Linked DNA regions of Homo sapiens: region 2 is linked to region 1. The links are contacts of gene promoters, found by promoter capture Hi-C in blood cells and fetal thymus (Javierre and others, 2016). All regions are on one chromosome and are shown on one strand. Each heading gives the region's core, a stretch centred on a gene start or on the middle of the fragment in contact. The rest is flanking DNA. Distances are from core to core; before and after follow the strand shown.

Evidence for each region. The method cuts DNA at HindIII sites, captures the fragments that hold promoters and counts their contacts. A CHiCAGO score of 5 or more calls a contact.
Region 2: a fragment that was not itself captured here is called in contact with the fragment with the promoter of RBMS3 in region 1 in 1 of 17 cell types (neutrophils); the score reaches 5.2 in neutrophils.

What each region holds. Positions count from the first base shown.
Region 1 is chr3:29,278,508-29,284,868 of GRCh38, reverse strand. It overlaps RBMS3 (RNA binding motif single stranded interacting protein 3), which reads right to left and starts at 3,798. Exons shown (of 15, transcript NM_001003793.3): 1 at 3,113-3,798. The coding sequence starts at 3,187. It overlaps RBMS3-AS3 (RBMS3 antisense RNA 3), which reads left to right and starts at 3,930. Exons shown (of 3, transcript NR_109804.1): 1 at 3,930-4,138. RefSeq lists an enhancer at 4,894-4,943. The HindIII fragment of the contact is 8,241 bases long and covers 1-6,361 here.
Region 2 is chr3:29,063,711-29,070,071 of GRCh38, reverse strand. No RefSeq gene overlaps it. Among named protein-coding and RNA genes, the nearest start is that of RBMS3-AS3, 210 kb to the left of the region's middle. The HindIII fragment of the contact is 2,351 bases long and covers 2,956-5,306 here.

The DNA of each region.
Region 1 (6,361 bases), core at 2,549-5,048:
AAAAAAGAAAAATTCATCAAAAAGAAAATTGACAAATGACAACTTTTTAAAGACGTGAGGTGTGAAAGAGGGAGCACAGGATGACAACATTGTTACACATTATAGATATGAGTCAGCCACTGGGTTTTCATCTTAACTTACATGTATATTTTTCTAATATATAACATTTTAAGGATTTGAAAAATTATTTGAAGGAGCATAAACATTTACTTTTAAAGAAACAAAGTTGAGAGATTCATTCCAATGCAATGGAAAATAATAGGAGCAGAGAAGGCAGGGAAGTGTCGCAAGTTCTTCTAAAACTTTACTATGTATTCCAGGGAATGGAAACATCTGCATTTATTTCTTAAATCTCATTTTCATTTTGTTTTATCATTAAAAAATAGCAAAGGTATTTATCATTACACAAGTAGAAAAAGAGAGTTCAGCATGTGTGCATTTTCTGAAATAATGTAGTAATAAACATTTCAATCCTTTAAAATCCCATGAAGATTTTCCCCAAAAAACTAATGATAGTAAATAGCCCTTGTGGATTGGCAGGAAGAAAACCTACCTCAATTTAGAGAAAAATTTAAGATATGTTATCACCAGAATACGATTTTTACCTACCGTAGACTCTATTTTCATCAAACATAAGTATTATTGACATATCAGCATCATTTTAAATAGCTATGAATTTCAAATTGGATTATAACTCCAAGCCAAGGCTACAAAGAGTGGATTTTATGAATTCCACCCAGGCTTACCAAATAAATATAAGCAGCATGTACTTCATTTAAAATGATTATAAATTATATTTTGAGGTATAAGTGTAGAAGGAACAAAAAGTGATGTGGAAATAACCCAGTTGTTTTCCTGTTACACTGAAACATGATGGTACTTCATTGTATAGTATTAACCCTGTCAGAAAATCCCCAGTACCCACATTTTAAAATATGATTGCACATTGACTCTTCATCTCATTTCCTCTCTATGCAAGTTTCAAAACAGGGCACATTTTCTCATCTTCAGCTTCCAGGAATGCTATTAATGTCTGTCATTTCAGAGCCACCATAACAATACAGGACAACTTCAAAGCATTGTCAACATTTTACAACATAATAATCAATGTGAACTACCATGATAGGCAAAATAGCTGATCTTATATTCCCTACTATCCTGATCTGATTATCCAAATATCAACATAGGACGCCTAATGGATCTAACTTCTTTAAAAATGTTCCAGAAGTTCAAGGTGTTGGCTAGCTTGAGAGTAACAAGATCCAGATGCCGCCTGTCTATACAACACTAAACTACATAGAACTCCAAAACAGATATCTACAATCTCCCTATTTTTCAGGCTCCTCTCTTTTCCCTCACTACTCCACTCTCTCTCTTTACCCCCCATCTTTCTCTCTCTCGCACACACTTTCTACTAGTATAGCTCATCCAGCAGCCTGTGTCTTTGAAAAAATGTGCATAACATTCACTATTTCCTGTTAGTAATAGGTTAAAAGAAGTCTCAAACAGAAAAACAATTATGTTATTCATTTCAATCTAAAGTTTCTTTTCTGAATATATACCATAGTAGAAAACAAGGACCCGAAACAAAGTGTAATTTTTGAAACACTTGGAAAAATGTAGCCAAATGAGTAAAAGGGATGGAATGTCTGATATTTTTCATGCAACCTTTGAGTTTATTGTTTTTGTTTTGTTGAGGCATGAGAAATGACTGTAAATTTTCCCCTTTTAACTTGTCCTTGCTCTGCCATTTCCTTGAGGAATGGCAGGCAGCATTCTCAACCTAACACCCCCAAAGAGTTAAAACTTAAGGCACCGAGCAGGAGGGCTAGTCTATTTAAGCATCAGCAGCACAAACTAAATGCTCACAAAGGCAAATAGCAGTGTGAGTCGACCTTGGAGGGGCAGGGTGGATTACAAAGCAATTGAAAAAGAAAAAAACAAAGCAATAATCTTTTGTATAATACTGAAAGTCTGCTTCCCAGTCTGGTTTACAAATAGGCGTTGCTGGACGAGACAAAATAAATGACAGATAACTACAGCATGAATTACCTAACCCTAATCACATCACCGAGTCCTGGTGACAGCATAGATCATTCAGGCACGCCTTGTTCACTCTCGGCATATTTATTTATTAAGGAGACGGTGGAGTCTGGCTAATGCTAATGCAATACAAAATAATATCACCCGTACACTCGAGGTGGTCACTCCGCTAACATGTTTTCCCCCTAATCAAGTCCAATTTAATTGACAAATCGGAGCAGTGATTTCACACCTGAGAGTCTTTCATGTCTTAACTGCAGGATAAAGTTCAGGGTAGGTACTGCCCACTGCTTACTTACGTGGGCTTGCCTCTGGGCCCCTAATGGTCATTTGACACACACACATAAAGCCTAAAGTATTTAACCAATTCAAGTCCAATTATGATCAGTTACATTTCATTCCTTTTCAAGACTCAGGCCTCCTCATGGCAGCTACACAGAAAAATAGATCTTCTAAAAGTAAAGAACATCTATTGTAAAGCAGTCTGTAGCATGCTGATCATCCTCAACATAAAATAAAATAGGCAAGGCAAATTAAAAATAAAAATAAACTCTCAGAGACTCTGGTAGGAGCCCTATACCTTCTCACACCCTTCTTTCATTCTATACCCTGCGATTAAAAGTTTGAGTTACCCCCACCGTTGCACGTCCTATCCAGTGGGAAAAACCCTTTTAGAGCCACAATCAAAGAACAGCTCACCAGAAAAGCCCCTGAAATTATATTCTTGTGCCTGGTAATCACTGTTGTGATCTGCTTTCTAAAAACCGTGCCCATCTGCAAAAGACGTTCCTGATATCAGGACCATTTATGCTGCCAAATAACAACAAAGAAACTGAACTCAAGTGAAACTATTATCTCTCCTTAAAGAGAAAGCTACAATTCCGGGTTTGCTGCTTTCTTCTTATGTCTTCCTCTGCCTCATTAACTCCATTGGTATGTCACTAATTTCAAAGAAGCAGGAAGAAGTGATGGGGGTGGGGGTTAACTAATAATTCACACGCCTGTCTGTTTCCCATCCCAAGTGCAGAACGATACCACGCTGATCGCCAGACCGTGGGTCAAGCCATACCTTGGTTTGGAGATAATGAGGATAGTAGTAAGTGTACTGGGGGTACATTTGTGGCTGATCCAGGCGTTTGCCCATGTAGCTGGAATCTTTATCTCCGAGGCAGGGAACTGGATGACAGGGTATAGTGCCCCAGGCCGAGCTTCCTCTTAAACCACTATTCCTGACAGTCCCGGTGACTGATGAGGCTTCAGAGACTCCACCACTCGCTAGTTCCAACACAGCAAGAATTTTTTTAAAAAACAAAACAAAACAAAAAACACACACCAAAGGAAAAAAAAAAAGGGCGAGGAGTGAGATCTGTAGAAAAAACACCCACACACAGCCTTCCCAGATCTTGCCTGGCTTCCCCCAGCTGCCGGGGTCCACTTGGGATGAGGCAGTTTGTTCTCTAACCAGGCTGTCTGTAGTGATGTCAATTGCCAGCGTTCGTAAAGGGGGAAAAAAATCAAAGTCCTTTTAGCACAACTCCGAATCCTTGCAGATCAGCTTCCTGTCTCTTGGTTGTCTCTTTCCCCACCTTAAAGAAAAAGAAAAAAGAGAGAGAGAAAGAGAAAGAAAGAAAGAAAAAGAAAGAAAGAAAGAAAAAGAAAGGGGAAAAAGAAAAAAAAAAAGAAAAAAAGGAAGAAAAAAAAAAAAAAAAAACCTTGTACAGCTTAGTTGCTGCTGTCTCCCTCCCAGAGTGACATGGTGTTCGGGGCTTGTCCTGTCCTTTCATTCACTTCCCCTCCTTCCAGCCGGTGGGTGGAACCGAGAGAGCCTCTCCAGGGAGCAGCGTACGCAGTCCAGAAGGCTGCAGTATTTCCTCCAAGAAAAAAAAAAAAAAAGGCTGCTTCAACCCCTGCTGCAAGCAAAGTTCCGATTCCCTCTGCTGGCTATCTCGAATAGCAAGCGATTTTTGCAGCAACGCTGCTGCCGCTGGAACTGAACCTGAAGAACTCAAATGCGGGCGGTGGATTATTTCTTATCCCTCCTCCATCTACCCCACACAAGAGCTGCTTTTTGTTCCTCTTTTTGCCAAGTTCCAAGGTAAGCCACACTGCTAAACAAAACACAGAAGAGAGGGAAGAGAGGACGAAAGAAGGAAGGAGGAGAAAGGAAAAGAAATAAAGGCAGGGGAACTAACCTTGCTGGTTAAAGGGGAAAAAAGTAAGTCCCGGATGCTTTCAAAATCTGTTAACACGCTAGAGCCAGACGCATCCAAGAGCTGATTGAGAAACTAACCTTTTACTACCTGGAAAACTTGGTGGATGTTAAGTATTGAAGAAATTTTAGGGTCTACTCCAGGACTACTATTAATGCCACATGTCATCAGATTGGACTGATCAACTGAACATATCAAAAATAATAACTTTTTTAAAATACATCCATTTTGTAAAAAAAAAAAAAAAAAAAATCAAAGGAAGTGACCCCTTAGGTTCGTCAGATATTTTACAGATAAAATCTGTTTCTCCCATTGTCTCTCTCTTTATGATTATTTTGTTGCATTGATGCTTTAATCACTTTACTGATATCATCTAAAAAAAAAAGAACAAAAATCATAATTGCTTGGCAGAGTTTTTTCCCACCAATGATAATATTCTGTCATGTCTATCAGCTGCTACATTATAATACAAATTGTTTCAGATAAAATATATTTCCTTAAAGGGTCCCTTTTCAAGGCGGGCGAGGCTAAAATTAGATGTGCCAGCTGTGTTTTGCTGCGAGTGCTCACGCATGCCCAAAGCGTGGGCAGACCAATACTGAGCTCTTTTCTACTTTGTCAAGTCGGCTCTGTTCTCCTGAGCCCAGAGTCTCCTATTTAGATAAAAGGTCCCTGGTACAAATCCAGCTTCCTAGTCAAGAAGAACAGAGAATTTGGGCTCAGTGCACACATGGTGTCCATCCACATACAAGCCGCACCACCCCTAAAGCAACTGGCTTCCACCGAGGGGAACTGGTTTCTGGAAGCTGTGTGAGTGCATACGTGTTCCTTGGATAAAAATAAGGATGGCAGGTAAATAGTTTTATGTTTTACTTTTGACAAGAATAACAATCAGAAGGAAGGAAGGATGGAGGGTGAGAGGGTAAGAGTTAGGAGGCCCTGACAACATGGTGATTGAGAATATTAAATCAACCCCACCTATCTCTTAAATGTATTATTTGGGGCCTCAGTTGTCCCATCTATAAAATAGAAATACTGCCAACTCTCCTGGCTGAAGGCAGTACACTGAATCAGACACTAAAAATGACACTGATTTAAAAATCCTCCAGTGGTGTCACGTTTCTCAAACAATAAAGTCCTGACTCTTTGGAATAGGTTTCAGGACACTTGACGAGCTGTCTGGCCCTGGCTTTCTACTCTAGTCTCGGACTTTCAACTCTGCCCCTCACATCCTATACCGGAGTCACTCTGAGCTACTTTCAGGACAGGAACATGCTCTCAGAGGCTTCTGTCATTCCCTCTTCCTGGAGTGCTCTCCCAAGTCCATCTCCACCTCTTTTACCCTTCAGCCTGTCCTTCAGGTCTCAGTATGGATATCACCTCCTCACAGTAGCTTTCTCTAAACCCTTCCTTCTCTGCTGCACTTTATATTTGCCCTCATAGAAGGCTTATTCTACATGTATTTGCCTGCTTATTGTTTGTTTCTTCCATGATGTTCTAAACTCTAGGGGGGCAGGAGGTCACATTGTTCTCACTTGCCTTTATATTTCCAAAAACTTGCATAGAGTTGAGCACAAAATGGGTGTTCAGTAAATGTCTGAAGAATAAAATGTTAGACATAATTAATAATTTTTCAACCTGACTTACATCCCTCTTTCAGTACATTTCAGTCCCTGTTACAGGTCAAGAATTGACCTGGGTGCAGGATATAGAGGCACATGAATCAGAACAAGGTCCTTCTTTCATCGAGTTTATATTTAGTGGGGAAGGGGGGACAAACAAAGGGATAAAGAAGTAAATATGCAGTATAATGTCAGGAAATACAAAGCGCTGTAAGGAAATATGAAACAGAGTAAAGAGAAACAAAGTCACAGAGATTCTACTTTAAACAAGATAGGAAAATGCTCTCCAAGGAAGAGCCTTGGAAAATGCTTTCCTAAGGTCAAAGCAAGGGTGTGAACCATTCTCTGGGTATTGTGCACTGTGAGAATACTTCGTGTTAATGCCTTGGATCCCATCCAGACTGCCTGGGTTCCAATCCTGCCCCTTCTTCATTCATCTCCCTCAGTTTCTTCATCCATCAAATATCACTATTCACTTCATACAGT
Region 2 (6,361 bases), core at 2,882-5,381, 220 kb after region 1:
TGAAACTGGACCCATTCTTTACACCATATACAAAAATCAACTCGAGATGCATTAAAAATGTCAGTGTAAAACCTGAAACTATAAAAACTCTGGAAGATAACCAAGGCAATACTATTCTGGACATAGGCACTGGCAACGATTTCATAACAAAGATGTCAAAAGCATTTGAAACAAAAATATAAAATTGATAAATAGAATAAGCTAAAGAGCTTCTGCACAGCAAAATAAGCTATCAACGGAGTAAAGAGACAACCTGTAGAATGGAAGAAAATATTTGCAAACTATGCATCTAACCAAGGTCTAATATCCAGAATCTATAAGGAACTTAAACAAACTTATAAGCAAAAAACAACTCCATTAAAAAGTGGGCAAAGGATATGAACAGACACTTTTCAAAAGTCATAGACAAGGCAAACAAGTATACAAAAAAAAAAGTTCCACATTGCTAATCATTAGAGAAATGCAAATCAAAACCACAATGATATATTATCTCATACCAGTCAGAATGGCCATTATTAAAAAGTCAAAAAATAACAGATGCTGACGAGGTCTTGGAGAAAAGGTAGTGCTTATACACTGCTGGTGGGAATGTAAATTAGTTCAGTCTTTCTGGAAAGCAGTTTGGCAATTTCTCAAAAAACTTAGAATTACCATTCAACCCAGCAATCCCGTTATTGAGTATATACCCAAAGGAATCTAAATCATTCTATGGTAAAGATATATGGATGCTTATGTTCACTGTAGCACTGTTCCCAATAGCAAAGACATAGAATCAATAGAATCGCCCCAAATGTCCATCAACAGTAGACTGGACCAAGAAAATGTAGCACATACACACCATGGAATACTATGCAGCCACTACAAATAATGAGATCATGTGCTTTGCAGCAACCTGGATGTAACTGGAGGCCATTACCCTAAGCAAACACGGGAACAGAAAAAATTTTAAAAACTGGAGTGTTACTCCTATACTGGCTGGGAATCAGTCACTGATACATGTTTTACTACTGCTGGGTGCCTTTTCTGTTGCCAGAAAGACAAAATTGCCTGATCATCAACAGCATCTGGTATTTCCGCAAATAATCTTCTGATATATTATTATTATTAGGTTTAGTTTGAGTATATTAAGTAATCTCTCTTTTAAAAAGAATTAACCTATATAATAAACTCTTAAACAGAAAAAATATGCAATTCGCCAGAAAATCAACTGAAATTGAACAGAAATTTCAAATAAGAGCCACATTACATTTTTGATTTCTAGAAACAATATTACGCTGTATTGCAGAACAATAAGTACCTAAGTGGCAACACAAAATGCCTTAATAGAGAAATTTCTGAAAGATTAGAAACATTTTTACCCAAAGGAGAAATTTGATAACTCATATCTTCCAACCACCATGATTTCACCAAGAATAATTCAAAATCTGTTGGCTAGATCAACACCAACAGACAAGATTCAAAAGATGCTTCAGAATCTACCATGGTTCAATAGCTGAGTTCTACCTAAATCAATACCAATATTAGTTATATTTTTCCAGACCCAAAAATACTTTTTGTAAGCTGAGCTAAAATTATTATTGCCTAACAATAAATACTTCCATCTGCCTGCACTTAATAATATGAAAGTTACTCGTTTAATGAAGGTTATCCAACTTAGTCTTCATTTAATGAAGGTTATCCAACTTAATCTTCATTACAACACATGATGTGAGCATTATTGTCTCATTTCAAAGTGATTAAAGAATTTATGTATGGTTATACCACAGCTAAGATGTAGGGTTGGGATTCAATCTAAAGTCAAAGGAAGTAGTCTGTCAGCTTCCCCATGCTGCCTCCTATGCCTGTGCAAATGTGAAAGTGATATACTAAAGAGTAAAACCCAAGGATTAAAGGCAAAAATATGCACTTAATAGTAATACCCAGAAGCTTTCTAGTGCCATAGTCATTAATGGAGTTCACCAAATCTCTATGAATCCCTACACTCTGGGCACATGTTAGATTTGCACTCTTTTCTTGCATGGTGGGATAGGGTCAAGTGGTAGATCTGGCTACTGAGGGGAGAGAAGTGACATGTGAATTAGTTACTTGGTGAAAGAATGGCCAAAATCTTTTTTCCTCCTGGCAGTAATCAGCAAAGTTAAACATGGTAGATGCTCCATCAGCCTGAGTTCTGGACTGACTAACCTGGAAACAATAGGAGAGTCCCTGCTTGCCCATGATAGATAGGTAGTGTTAGCCAGAAATAAATTGTTGATTTAAGCCTCTGATACTTAGGGTTGTTGACTACAGCAGCATGATCTATCATATCCTGATACTCATGATGTTCATTTCTCTCCAAGAGAAGACCTTTTGTAGGTTGTACCAAATCCATACATTACTCTACCTATAAGAAGTAACTAACCTCAACATTGCAACAAATCACAGGGAAGGCTAAACCATATATGTCCAAAAAGCAGAACTGACTTTTATCTGGACATAAATAGAATGAGAAGACATTTCCAGGTAATAAAAATATAGTAAATATGATTGTGTTTCTCATATCAGGGAGTTTCAGGGTTTTTTGTTGTTGTTGTTTTTGAGATGGGGTCTCGCTCTGTTGCCCAGGCTGGAGTGCAGTGGCGTGATCTCGGCTCACTGCAACCTCTACCTCCCAGGTTCAAGCAATTCTCATTCCTCAGCCTCCGGAGTAGCTGGGATTATAGGCGTGAGCCACTGCACCTGGCCGACTTTTGGTTATTGTTAAAATTAATTTCCAATCTATCACAGACCCAACATACTATCTCACTATGTGAGTTTATATGATCACACCAGTTCGTAGCTAGAGATCATGATGACTAGTTCATAGCTAGTGACTCTATGACTCACCACATGAATTTGACAACACCTCAAGCTGTTTGATGAGACATGCTTAGATGCTGTGACATTACAAAATTGTTATTAAAATTTCTAAAAGCTTATTTTTAATTTCTATACCTATTTTGTTACAGACCAGTAATCAAATGGTTGTAGTCATTCACCAGTTTAGGAAATCATACTTTGAGTAGCACTGCTGAACATAACCAAACTTCCTTGGCTTGTGTTTAAAGTAAACTTTTCATTTGGGTAACCAGAAACTCAGGATTTTCCATAACTGGTTAACATAACTGATATAAACACTGTGTTGAATATTATGGGGTAACAACAACATAAACAGCCTGAATAGTATTAGCAAAACTTTGGAGATGAAATGAGCAATCTGTATGCTGAAGATCATAAATATTTCCCTTAGCCATAATTATGAAGCATTTTACTAATTCCTAATGGGAAAGAATTAATAGTTAAGGTAAAAAACAGCTTGTATATGATGTATAGTTCATTGCATAGAAAACACTCTTAGAGACAGAGTAAACTACACATAGTTCTTACTCCCTAGCCTAGGCCTGGTCTTCTTAGGTATTCTTTTGTGGTCTTAAAAAACAATTGCTATAGAGATACTAAATACATTGTATAGATAATCCTGGACAGTGGACTCTAGATTGACAGTTGTCATCAGAGTTCTGGTACCCAGTTTGAGGAGACAGAGCAAAAACAACTTAGAAAGTTGCCTTAGCATAGTTTATTCCTATTTAAGCTCTCTACACCTTATAATCTTTATTTTTAAATTGGTATGTACATACACACATACATACATACATATATAACATCTATGTATGTATACTAGGGTTTCCCAACCTTCGTATTATTGACATTTCAGGCCAGTAATCCTTTGCTATGGGAGCTATTCTATTGATTGTAGGATATTTAAAAGCTCCCCCAGGACTCTAACCACTGGATACCAGTATCATGGCCCCAGTTGTGACAACCAATATCCACTGAGATATTGCCAAGTGTCCTATGGAAGATTGCTACCATTTGAAAATTACTGTTATATATAATATATATTATATATGTTAATATACTATGAATTTTAATAATTTTATTGATTTCTTGGAAAAACATGCATAAATCCATTAAGATTAGAAAGCAGACACTTTTTTTAAGAAAGCAGAATGGATCAAGATATTTAGTCTCACTTTTTCAATATTTTATATTTTATACAAGTATTTTAAAGGTACATACATCACATCCTGATGTGATGTACATACAACACACAATATTAGGCAAAGGTCTCTGTCAAGCAAATTTCCAAATATCACTAAAAAATAAATGCTAGATATAAAATGTTTATTCAATGTAGATGGGAAGGGAAAAATAATGTCAAGACATGTGGGTTGCATATCTACATTCTAATATATGGAAAGACTAGTCAGAAGACATTTTTAAACTTTCCTCCCAGGACTAGAGGCACTGCACCTTTAAATGGAGCTAGCTGCAGTAACCTGCAGAACTCTCATGGAATGTGGAGTGTTCCGGGATTCTGTCTAGTCAGGCCTCTGGCAGGGCTGTGGCAGCTTTGTTTGTGGGCAGGCAGCCTCCTCACATTTCTGTTACTTTATCCTTAAGGAAGTTGCCATGGAGACTGGCATGGAGATGGCAGTTGGCCAGGCAAAGAGTTTTAAGTTGAAAAAAACAACACATTCACACACACTCAAGCTCTTACTCACACATACTCCCAAAATAAACACATCCTTGTGTGTACATAATCAACTTTAAAAAAATACACTTAGCGTCATTGCCTATTTGGGTAAATGGTTAAACCTTTGTTTCTTTTCTAACTTGACCCAAAAAACACCATCAGAAAAAGAGCAGTTAATGAAGTAGGAAAATAGCACCTATTAAAAGTAATCCATCACAGCTCATGAACACCCAGCTAGTAGGCATCTGATTGCAAAATCTGTTTTCTTGGCAAAGGAGTCATGAGAAGGAAAACTAAAGTGATACAGTAAATGAAGAATTTCTTCATTTGGTGAAAACAAATGTGATTTGGTCAACTTAAATATTATCAAAAGTGGTCCAACATTTTATTTTATTTTCATAAACAAAATGTAAAAATAACACAGAGCTTTGAAGATTTGTTTTTTAATTTTGGGAGGGCAGCAGAATTGAAATCTTCTTTAGCATTCTGAAAAGCCTCAGATTTTATCCAATCTTTGTATATGGAGTACTTTCCACAGCAGCCTTCAAACTCAAGGTATTTGGTCAAAAACAATGATAAAATTCTGAAGTACATCTAGGTTGGTTAGAGAGAAATTCATGAAAGTCATAAATCCTTGAGAATTATCCCAAAACAGCATCAGAGATTTGAATGCTACTAGTGCATAAATTGCTTAGTGTTTACTTAGAAAACAAATCTCCATATGCAGTATGCACTTCATAAAACTAAAGCTTTCAATGTACTTTTATTTCAGCATGGACAATATGCAAGAAAGTATTGCTGTAATTCAGATTATTAGATTATGAACTGTACAAACAAGCATCAAACAGTAAAAGAAAATGGAAGGAAACGTTTTCAAAATGAAATGTTTCTTTCTGTTATGAAAGTAGTGTTGACAATCCAAAGATTTGTGTTTCCATATGTAACCAACTGAATAACACAACACTGACTATTGTGAATTTTATGTTTTTTTCCCCTCTCTCTTCAAAGGACAAACTGCCTTGGAGGTATTGTTGAGTGGGCTTCTGTGTGATAAGCCAACCCAAAACAGTTCACTTAAGGATTAAGTTGAAGCTTTGTTTTCAAGGTTTAGGGAACACTGCACAGCCTCACTTTATAATTACCACATGTATGACAAACCCTAGTGTTTTATAGTCCTTCTGATGACCAGCTGTGCATGGATTTTACATGGTCCTTTTGTCAGTATATAAATACAACCTGCTGAGGTTATGAGGAAACCACACAGTTATTAGTGTTGGTATGCACCATGAAAATGCTATTCAAATCAGCTTGTGGTTGACGTATTAGTTACTACATCAGAACCACTGATCTCTATTTTATTACTTCCCTGATGAATGACATAACACAACAAAAAAGTAGGAGTCTGCCTAGACAGATGTAATTTATCCAAACCGTCTGTTTCTATAACCCACAGAAGCAGATACTAAGTATTTTCCCCACATATATGACCATGGAAAATGATTGCAATAACATGAAATGTTACCACAGTGTTAATGACAATCCACTATACTGAGAGAAAAATCGATTAAAATCAGTTTTATTTTTCTTTTAAGGTGAAAGGCATACATTGCAATAAAGAGGTGTTGGGCTTTTATAGAGCACAGAGTAAAAACGAAGTTTTCACTCTATGACATGACAATTCTAATTGTTTTCTTTCATAAATTTACATGTACATGATTAGCAGCTTAATTTTCACAAAGCAGTCCTCAAAGACATCTTGGAAAACATGTCTTAGAAGTTCAGTTAAAACACCACCACCACTGCCAT